Regions from separate parts of the Homo sapiens genome. Here region 2 is linked to region 1. The links are contacts of gene promoters, found by promoter capture Hi-C in blood cells and fetal thymus (Javierre and others, 2016). All regions are on one chromosome and are shown on one strand. Each heading gives the region's core, a stretch centred on a gene start or on the middle of the fragment in contact. The rest is flanking DNA. Distances are from core to core; before and after follow the strand shown. Region 1 holds the start of DIAPH1-AS1 (DIAPH1 antisense RNA 1). Region 2 has its middle 3.0 kb from the start of SLC25A2.

Region 1 (5,240 bases), core at 2,389-4,888:
GGGGTATAAAATAAAAATAATAACAGATCACATTCAAGTTAGATTTGTTTTAGGAATGCAAAATCGGTGTAACAGAAATCAGTTAATATGCTTCCCACAATTACAGATTAAAGTAGAAAATTATATGATCATCTCAACAATACAAAAAAAAACCTGACCAAATTTAATATCCATTCAGAATAAATAGTCTTAGCATATTAGAAATCGAAGAAACTTCTTTGACAATGTGTATATATACCAAAAGCTACAGGCAAAACCCTTCAGGATGGTGGGTACTCTGAGTTGGGGGTGGAGGTTCAGTTGTAACTGGAAGGGGGGTACATAACAAAGGGCATCTTGGTCTCAGACCCTGATTACATGAATGTAAATTTCCTTTTAAATTTTTTGAAATTTAATGCTGCATAATGAGTTGTACACTTCGACCTGAAATAAAGAAGAACTAAGATACACACACACGTCCCCCTCTGATTACAACCATGTAAATGCTATATATACAGCACAGGCAAAGACTACAAGTGAATATGAACAAATTAAAACAGTTTGATTTGTTAACATAGTGTGATAATGTAACTATGTGTAAATTTTAAAAACTGTCACCAAACAGGAAACTGTGAGAAAGGTAAGACAGATATGGCTCTGGGCACCACCTATTTTATTTTCATATCCTTAGACAGGTAGGCCTGGTTCAACTTTGACGGTGGGTTAGGAAGAACTCCCACTGACAACCAGCAGTAAAGACAGGCAGTCAAATGTAGAACCCATAGAATGCTCCCATTTGCTGCCTTCCCAGCCTTCTTACAGGAATGGTGCACTAATTAATCATCCAGATACTAAAGCACCTAATATACAACCTTATCAATGCTTGGGTTCCAGCCCCCATTTTCATAAGAGCAAAGATGAGAAGTCCAGAACAAAGGCCTCATGCTGTCCCTCACCCTAAAAACAACATCAAGGGCTGAGTAATTTCAGTTTACAGAATTGTGTGAAATAAGGGACCAAAATAGGTGGGTATAGATAGCACCTTAGCACAAAGGAAAAGAGGAAAATTTTTTCTGCAAAGGCTGTGACTCTCAACAAACAATAGTAGAAAAGAGAGACCCTTACACCTAGCTATGTGGTTAAAAAGTGGCCGTGCCAGGATCCGTATTTCTAGCTGCTGCAATCCTGACCTATTCAGCAGATTCTAAACCTTTTGCTAGTGGGAACTATAGTTTCCAAACTAGACATGGGGCCAATCTAGTCTCCACAGACCAGACTCTACGAGTGTCCTGCCAGCCTTGCCAAGAAGCCAGACCCTGCTAATTCCCTTCTATCACCTGTGCCCTTCCCTTGGGCAAGGGAATAGACTGCTTGCTGTGGCTGCTGAAAGTCAGAGTCACTGACCCATTTCAGAAGTGGGAGAAGAATATTAAGCAAGAACTTTCATCTGATCATTTGCATCTAAGTCAGTCTCAGGGAGTATCTCCAAAAAGGTCAAGGGAAGGACTAGCGATATTATAATCCTGAAGCCATAAAGGACTTTTCACCACATCCCCCCCGGCCCCAACACAGTATTATATTTTTTCTTTCTGTAAAAGTCCATGAAGTGCTGTTAATTCATTGAGTCTTACCAGGGAGAAAGCTGCTACTTAAGTAAAAAAAGTATTCGGGAAAAAAAAAGCTGATACTCTAGAATCACCATAGGGATGCAGCTATTACACAGTGGCCAAACACAGTTGTCCCAAAGCTTAAAAGCTCTCCTTTAATTCTTAGAACGGGTGAGGCCCACTTCTATGACCATGTTCTCCGTTGACGGCAGTGTGCAAACTTTTCTCAAGACTTTGGGTAACAGATTATCACGTCAGGAGAAAAGTAAGAGTCCAGCCCTTTCTCCCTCTGAAGGTGGCAGGGCATTGCTCCTTCACTTGGTCACCAATAGCCTCTGTGGGAAATCCTAAAGAAGAGGCTCTGCTCTGGCAAGAAGGGAAGTCTGGCTTTGTATCTTCTCAGTCCCAACCTGAGAGATCTTCTTTTTATTTATTTATTTATTTATTTTTTGAAATGGAGTCTCACTCTGTCACCCAGGCTTGAGTGCAGTGGTGCAATCTTGGCTCACCACAACCTCCGCCTCCCGGGTTCAAGCAATTCTCCTGCCTCAGCCTCCCGAGTAGCTGGAATTACAGGCATGCGCCACCAGGCGGCCCGGCTAATTTTTGTATTTTTAGTAGAGACGAGGTTTCGCCATATTGGCCAGGCTGGTCTCAAACTCCCAACCTCACGTGATCCGCCCGCCTCGGCCTCCCAAAGTGCTGGGATTACAGGCGTGAGTCACCGCGCCTGGCAGAGATCTTTTTAAAAGAAATTAAGTCTATAAATAAATTGCAAAATAAAAAATAAAAAAGAGCATAAGAGAGAACCTATAGAGACATCAACCAACTGCAATGTGTAGACTTTATTTGGCTCTGATTCAAATGAACTATTAAAAAAAACAACTATCATAAGATAATTTGGGAAATTTAATACTAACTGGCTATCTGATGATAAAGAATTTTTTAAATGTGATAATGGTAGTAATTATCTTCTTTTAAAAGTCCTAATTTTTTTGACACACATTCTGAACTGCTTAAGGATTAAATAATATGAACAAGGATACATGTAAAAATAATGGGTGGCAAAGACAAAGTTGATACAGGTATATGAAACAAGACTAGCTGTTGATTAAGTTTTTTAAATGGGTGATGGACATAGGGGTGTTCATACTAGTCTCTTTACATATATGTGTGTATGTGTGCGTGCATTTTTTTCACGGTTTCAAAAATAACATTTTTTAAAAAAATTCAGGACCATTTCCCTAGAGTCCTTGGGGCATTTGATTCTTCCCAGACAGCTAAGTGAAAGGGGTTCCTTTTTTTCTTCTTTTTTTGGGGGTATCTTTTCTTATCTGATCCTATAATTAAGAAAACTGCCCTAAACATCTCTGTAGCAAAAACACCTAAACCCAGGATTAGAGTCTAGATGAGGCAGAGGGGATGCCCTGGCCTGCTGCCTCAAAAGCTAGCACTCTGTCACTGTTAGTAGGTGTCCGGCAGCCAAACCATTTTGCTCTGTGCTCCGCTGGCAAGGACTTGCGGCATCGATTGCTCAGGATGCAGGCAGCCTGCAGCAAGGTGTGTCCCTGATGAGCAACTGCTGAGTAAAAGAGTACGTAGCTGCGCCTCAGCCAGTCTCCCTCCCTCTGCAAACCAGACTCCTCCTTTGCCTAACTCCTTTTTTTATTCCTGCGTCACAAATACAAAATGGAGTTAGCTGGGAGCAAAAACAATCTGTCTAAAATGGCTGAATGCGGTGGGGAGTGCCAGACAGTAAAGCGAAGGGAAAGGGCACCCCCTGGCGGCCAAGATAGGGAGTCTGTTTTATGTTCTTCACTACTTTTGCATTTCAAACGAATCAGTCCTACAGAGTCCAAGTTAATTTTGTCACAAATCTTGATGTTGAGCTCTAAAATTCAACTAATAGAAACTGAGGCACAAGAAGGGAAAATAATTTTCAGTCTCTAAAGACAAAGGGCACAAGTCAACAGCCCTGAGTTGCAGTTACTGCTTGGTTATGATCAGTAATAGTTTCTAGGAGACAACAGAACGGAAGGGAGGTCCTTTTATAGTACATGATTCCCCAGCTTCAATAATGGACTAATGACCCCCGGAATCCCACCGCTATAGCCTGCACTTCCCCAGGAATTCCTGTTTAAGGCGTCTCTCAATGAAGACCACAAACAGGAAATGGAGGAGTGGGGAGTTGCCTGACATCCTGGAAACTACGTTCTTAAAGAACTGCAGGTGGGAGTAAGTGGGATAGAAAAATGGGCTTTTCAAAAACTGTTGAGAACACGGACTGAGTCAGTTGTATCCGCACGGCTGGAAGACAGGCAGCTCCACCTAACCTCACTCACTTACTCAGGACCAAAACCCTACTTGCTCTGCCCAAGATAAAGCCTGCAGCATTTGTACCTATTCTACAGGGAACACCCTCCATTATCTTTATCTTACGCTACACCTCCCTTGAGTAAGCCAAGTACCTATGACTAAAAAAGAACATGTAAGAAAGGTGGAAAAAACAGAAATTATCTGGAAAAACTTGTGGGTACAAGTCATTAATGGTTGCCACTACTTAAATGAGGCTGCACAAATACGCCAGTTTATCCAACGTCCCTAAAGTGAGATAATGGCAACACATACAACACAGGTGCACAAAAATCACAAGTTGTTAAAAAAAAAAAAAAAAAGACTCTGGCATCACTATAGTTTTCTCTGAAGAAATAGGGTCTTTGTGGAAGAATCTTAGATCTCTCAGGCATATATGAAAGATCAGAACACTTAATAATCTCTCCAGGAAATAACTTTCTGTGAGGGTAACATAGCTATGGAATTGCCAAGTTCACCTAGCATACAATAAGCCATGTCTATTAAGCACTACATCAACTCTCTAATTCTGGGAAGAGGAGACAGTAAGAGGGTCTTAATGTTAATATAAGTGTTAATATAAGAAGCTGCCCAAATGGAGGACTTCTGATTTATATTCTTCATGGTTGTAATATACATAAGGGATAAATTCAGCACTTTAAAACAATCACTAAGGTATACATTATAGAAGGAAAAAATATCATGCCAACCGAATAGCAGTTATCCCTGCCCAAAGGTAACCGTATCACTGATACCTTGGCCAAAATATACAACTATCTGCAAAATCCCACAGAACTAGACCATTACAGATGTGCAAGCTGTAAGGAGGGACAGGGCAAACTGGCATTAATGAACAAACCTAAAGGACAAGAACAAAGCCACACAGAATCCCAAAGGAAGAACCAGATGCTGAGAGTTATAAAGAAGGGGACAGATATAAGTCTGGAAGGGTAGCAGAAAAGCAGTATTAAAAATCTGGGCACTTCACCAAGCATTTGGTCTTTCAGATAATATAGTCATTGAGTTTCCCACAGATACTTTCCCAGCACACCCAGGATGGTGACTCAATTAGGGAGTGCTAAAAAGAGGTCTGCTTCTAGGATGTGGGTGGGGAAGGACTGGAAGGACAGGCACTATCCCAAACAAGGACTCAGGTATGTCAGCAAAGAGGACAGGTTTATGCAAGGAAACAATAGGCTAGAGGGCAGAAGAAAAGGCATTAAAATAAGGTACTAGAAATAAAACTCTTTTCCTGGATTAAAAAATGTTTTATTATGGGAAAAATTAAACATTCAAAAACAC
Region 2 (5,379 bases), core at 1,629-4,128, 250 kb before region 1:
CCTGGGCAATATGGCAAGACTCCATTTCTACAAAAACGAAAAAATACCCGGGCGCGATGGCGCGCGCCTGTGGTCCCAGCAATTCAGGAGAATGAAGCGAGGATCGCTTGAACCCGGGAGGTCGATGCTGCAGTGAGCTATGATCGCACACTGCACTCCAGGGTGGGCGAAAGGGTGAGGCTCTGTCTCAAAACAAAACCAAAACCAAGAAAACATGTAAAGCTTTTCGATAAATTCTTGCAATTATGGCCGGGAACTCTAGACGCCGCAGTTCAGCTGGCGGCAAAAGAAATGCTGTCCTAATCAGTCAGCCCTGCTTCTTTTCTTTTCTCTCTTTTTTTTTTTTTTGACTTAGGGTCTCACTCGGCCGCCTAAGCTGGAGTTCAGTGGCGCGATCCTGGCTCACTGCAGCCCCAATCTCCTGGCCTCAGGCGATCCTCTCACCTCAGCCTCCTGAGTAGCTGAGACTAGAGGGACTACAGGCGCAAGCCACCACATCTGGCTAAATTTTGTATTGTACAGACGGGGTTTCGCCATGTTGCCCAGGCTAGTCTCGAACTCCTGAACTCAAGCAATCCACCCACTGGCCTCCCAAAGTGTTGGGGCTTACAAGCATGAACCACCACACCCGGCCTATCCCACGCTTCTTACCATGCAAAAAACAAAAACAAACAACCCGAAAAGAAGATGCCCTCACTTGAATAGACCCTGAATTCAGAGGGTCAATCTACAAGAAAACTGCTTTAAAGTAGATAAGACAGGCCAGGTGTGGTGGCTCATGCCTGTAATCCCAACACTTGGAGAGGCTGCGGAGGGAGGCTCATTTGAGCCTAGGAGTTCAAGGCTAGCTTGGGCAGCAAAATGAGACACCCCTTACCCCCTACAAAAAATAAAGTAGAGAAGACAAACTGTCAGAGGCGCTGGAACCACAGCAACTCCATCTTGACTAGGGACTGAGTAAAATAAGGCCGAGACCTACTGGACTGCATTCCCAGGAAGACAGGCATTCTAAGTCACAGGATGAGATAGGAGGCCGGCACAAGATACGGGTCACAAAGACCTTGCTGATAAAACAGGTTTCAGTAAAGAAGCCAGCCAAATCCCACCAGAATCAAGATGGCATAATAAGTGACCTCTGGTCGTCCTTACTGCTCATTATACGCCAATTATAATGCATTAGCATGCTAAAAGACACGCCCACCAGCGCCGTGTCCACTTACAGATGCCATGGCAACAATAAGAAGTGACCCTATGTGGTCTAAAAAGGGGGAGGAATCCTCAGTTCCGGTAACTTTGGACCCCTTTCCCAGAAACCTCATGAATAATCCACCCCTTGTTTAGCTTACATTCAATAAAAAACTGTAAGTATCCTTAGTCAAGCCGCCCAGGCCACTGCTGTGCCTATGGAGTAGCCATTCTTTTGCTTCTTTACTTCTCTAATAAACTTGCTTTCACTTGACTCTATGAACTTGCCCCAAATTATTTCTTGCATGAGATCCAAGAACAATCTCTTGGGTCTGGATCGGGACCCCTGTCCGGTAACGAAACGATCTGAGGGTTGCTACATGAGAGACAGTGACTGCTTTTGATCAGAAAACCCTCAGCGATCTGCCCACGCTCCTCACTTTCCTGGGGGGCAAGGAGGGGAGTAGGGCACTGTGGGAATCCTTAGCCCTGGAGATGTGCTACTGCTTTCCTGCAGAGCTGGAGAAATGCTATCACATGGCAACATCCCCAAGGATCTGGGGTTGCAGCCCTGGGAACTGGTGGAACGTGGAGTCCTTATCATTTCTGAAGATAGAACACGGCACTATAAAATCAACTTGGAAAATGGATAGTATTTATATACTGCATTGCTAAGAAACTTGATAGAAAAGAGCTGGGTGGCTCAGCACTATGCTTTCTAAGTTTTGAGATTCTCTTTGAGGACCCACACAGCCTCATGCAGAAGTAGAAATTTGTCGTTTGTACACTGTTGGTGGGAATGTAAAATAGTTCAACCCCTATGGAAAGCAGTATGGAGATTTCTCAAAGAACTAAAAATAGAACACCCATTCAACCCAGCAATCCCACTATTAGGTATCTACCCAAAGGAAAAGAAATCATTTTATCAAAAAGACACCTGTGCTGGGGACAGTGACTTACACCTGTAATCCCAGAATTTTGGGAGCCCAAGCCAGGTAGATCGCTTGAGCCCAGGAGCTCCAGACCAGCCTGGACAACATGGCAAAATGCCATCTCTACAAAAAAATACAAAAAGTAGCCATGCATGATGGCATGCCCCTGTAGTGGCAGCTACACAGGAGGCGGAGATGGGAGGATTGACTGAGCTGAGTTGGAGGCTGCAGTGAGTTATGATCCAGCCTGGGTGGCAAAACAAGACCCTGTCTCCAAAAAAAAAACCAGAAAACATCTACACTCATATGTTTATGGAAGCACTATTCACAACAGGAAAGTCACAGAATCAATGTAAGTGTTCATCAATAGTTGATTGGATAAAGAAAATGTGGTATATGTATACCACGGAATACTATGCAGCCATAAAAAAGAATGAAATTATGTCCCTCACAACATGGATGGAGCTGGGGGCTGTTATTCTAGGTGAAATATCTTAGAACCAGAAAATCAAATACTGCATGTTCTCACTTATATAAGTGGGAGCTAAACAATGGGTACACAAAGACATAAAGATGGGAATAACAGACACTGGGGAATCCAAAAGTGGGGAGGGTGGGAGGGATTGAGGGTTGAAAACCTACCTGTTGGGTACTACATTCACTATGTGGGTGACGGGTTCACTAGAAGCCCAAACCTCAGCGTTACACAACATACCCATGTAACACACCTGCACATGTACTCCTTGAATCTAAAATGAAATTCAATTTAAAAAGAAGTAGAAGTTCGGGATACAAATGACATGTCTAGCTTTCAAAGCAAGATGTTTTTTGGACATTAGTGAGGATACCACTGTCAGGACACACTTCTTCCTCCCAGATATTTATAATCCCAGCATTGGAATGAATTCTCTCCAGGCTTACATTCCAAGCCGTCGTCGGCCATGGGTAGTAAAAACAAAATCTGGGGGGAAGAAAGTATGCTGAAAGCATTCTCTTTCATTTAGAAAACTTTCCTTGTCTAATTATCCTTGGCTGTCAATTAAAAGTGAGGTACTTCAGAACAAAGGTCTCTGAGAAAATTTAAAAAAAAATTTTTTAATGAGGTACTAAAAAGCAAATTGTGCATGGATAATTTGTCACCAGGTAGTCTTCACTGTAGTAAATAGTAATCTGGGCTTTTCTTTGGGAAATGCCCAAATGTCAGCAGTTGCAGTTCTTTTCTCTGGTACCACATAGTTTCCTCAGAGAATGCTCTATGAGCTTTGACTGTGTGTGTGCAGGGTGTGGTGGGGGAGAGGTAGGTTATAAACCTAGATACTGATTTAAAGAGAACAAGAGAGGGGAAGAGGGATGACACACCTGGAGTAAATATACAGACTTTCACATAATTTTTTCCTTATTTGACACTGTGCCTACTTTCTCTGAGTTTGGGCCTTCTTTGGTTCAATTTATCCAGAAAATAAAATTTCCATCTTCTGTGGGATGGAAAGAGTTATCTGGCTTCATAGAGTGGGATAGAGATCCTGGACACCCAACAACTCTGAACACAGACTTTAATGAATCTCACATCTCTAACCCTACACCTTCCCACCTTCCCTGGAATCTTCTGCTTGCAAAAATTTTGCATCTTACAAGGCTCTGTCAAGTGGGTTTGTCTCTCTTTGGTATAACTACTTGCAGACATTTAGCATGTAACTTTTTCTGATCTATGAATTCATTTATCATTTCTCTGTTTTGGCCTTCAGATAATGGGTTGACATCTCTCATCCACTGTTGTCTCATTTCCTATTCTCTTTGTCCTTAGAAGTTAACATCTTTTAAAAATCCTTTCTGTTGTTTTATTTAGCAGCCTCTTAGGTAAAGCAGAAAGGATGAGAACAATCTGCAATTTGAAAATAGAAAACTTCATTAGGATTTTTAAATCCTTCATGTCATATTTGAGGAATTTTTTTCTATGTTTTGATTTCACTTTCAGGAAAGGGAACGGGGGAAAAGGGTTTTGTTTTGGTTTGTCTTGCTCTGCTGCCCAGGCCAGAATGCAGTGGCACAATCATGGCTCACTGTAACCTCAACCTCTCAGGCTGAAGCAATCCTTCCACTTTAGCCTCCCATGTAGCTGGGCCAGAGGTGTGCACCATCACACCCAGCTAATTTTTAAATTTTTTGTAGAGACAGAATCTCACTATGTTGCCCAGGCTGGTCTCAAATTCCTGGGCTTAAGTGATCCTCCCATCTCAGCCTCCCAAAGTGCTGGGATTACAGGAATAAGGCACTGTGCTCAGCCCAGAAATTATTTAAATAATAACATATTATGTAGATTTTGCAAGGTCACCTAATATAAATTAGAAATTTGCCTTCGAAGCATCCTGTAGTCTAAAAATAAACACTGAATGGCAAATGAAACAGATATTTGGAAATGGTTTAGCCATTAGATGTAGACCTTAAGACAAAGGGAGCCCATTATATGTGTAATAAATATAAGCAAGTCCAAGGCATTCCAAGTCTAGTGACATGGCATATAGTCTGCATTACTATTTCATTATGGAGAGAGCCTAAAACATATAATTAAGGTTATTTACTGTAAAGGTGTTATCTGAGTGAGATTTAAAAAATATTTTATATATTTTATCTTTCATTGCAAATAAATGGATTAAGTTCTACATTGCTATTTTATCTTCTTTTGCTGTATGAACAGCCATGCTAGGCTATTTTTGCCTCCATAAAAAGCATTTCACTGCATTCCAGCCTGGGTGACAGAGCAAGACAAAACAAAACCTTTTTCCCCCCTTCCCTTTTCTGAGAATGAAATCAAAATATATGGATCCCACTGGGCTACAGTTCATGATGCACACATATTGCCAGTCTTTAAGCACTGTTTCTGTGAGTGGAAAAATGCACTCAAGATGTTTTGCGTCTGCTCACACCACAACAATAAACACAGCAGACTTCTGTGACCAAATGGGTCGGGGTTTCTCCCCACACACCAAGCAAGCAATCAGTTCTACAGCAGACACCAGCTGGGTGTTTTCCAATCCAATTCCAACACTATCTACCTGGAGAAAGCATCAGATTCCACAGGGTAAGTGCTCAGTATCCAAGACTGCACCCCACCCCACTCCCACCTCAGACACTAGTCGTTAAGTCCGGGGCTCCAGAACTTCTAACAGACCAGCTTCATGTTGAGGTTGCTACGGCCCCTCTTTGGGTTTAATTCACTAGAGCTGCTCACAGGACTCAGGGAAACACGTTTACTGGTTTACTA

Evidence for each region. Contacts are between HindIII fragments. The CHiCAGO score rates a contact against its expected background, and 5 or more counts as called.
Region 2: a contact is called between a fragment that was not itself captured here and the fragment with the promoter of DIAPH1-AS1 in region 1, in 1 of 17 cell types (fetal thymus). The highest score is 5.1, in fetal thymus.

Annotation. Positions count from the first base shown.
Region 1 is chr5:141,554,673-141,559,912 of GRCh38, forward strand. It overlaps DIAPH1-AS1 (DIAPH1 antisense RNA 1), which reads left to right and starts at 3,639. Exons shown (of 3, transcript NR_038333.1): 1 at 3,639-3,815. The region is part of intron 18 of DIAPH1 (diaphanous related formin 1); the gene reads right to left. RefSeq lists enhancers at 2,617-3,469, 3,230-3,524. The HindIII fragment of the contact is 6,603 bases long and covers 1,725-5,240 here.
Region 2 is chr5:141,304,317-141,309,695 of GRCh38, forward strand. No RefSeq gene overlaps it. Among named protein-coding and RNA genes, the nearest start is that of SLC25A2, 3.0 kb to the left of the region's middle. The HindIII fragment of the contact is 5,316 bases long and covers 221-5,379 here.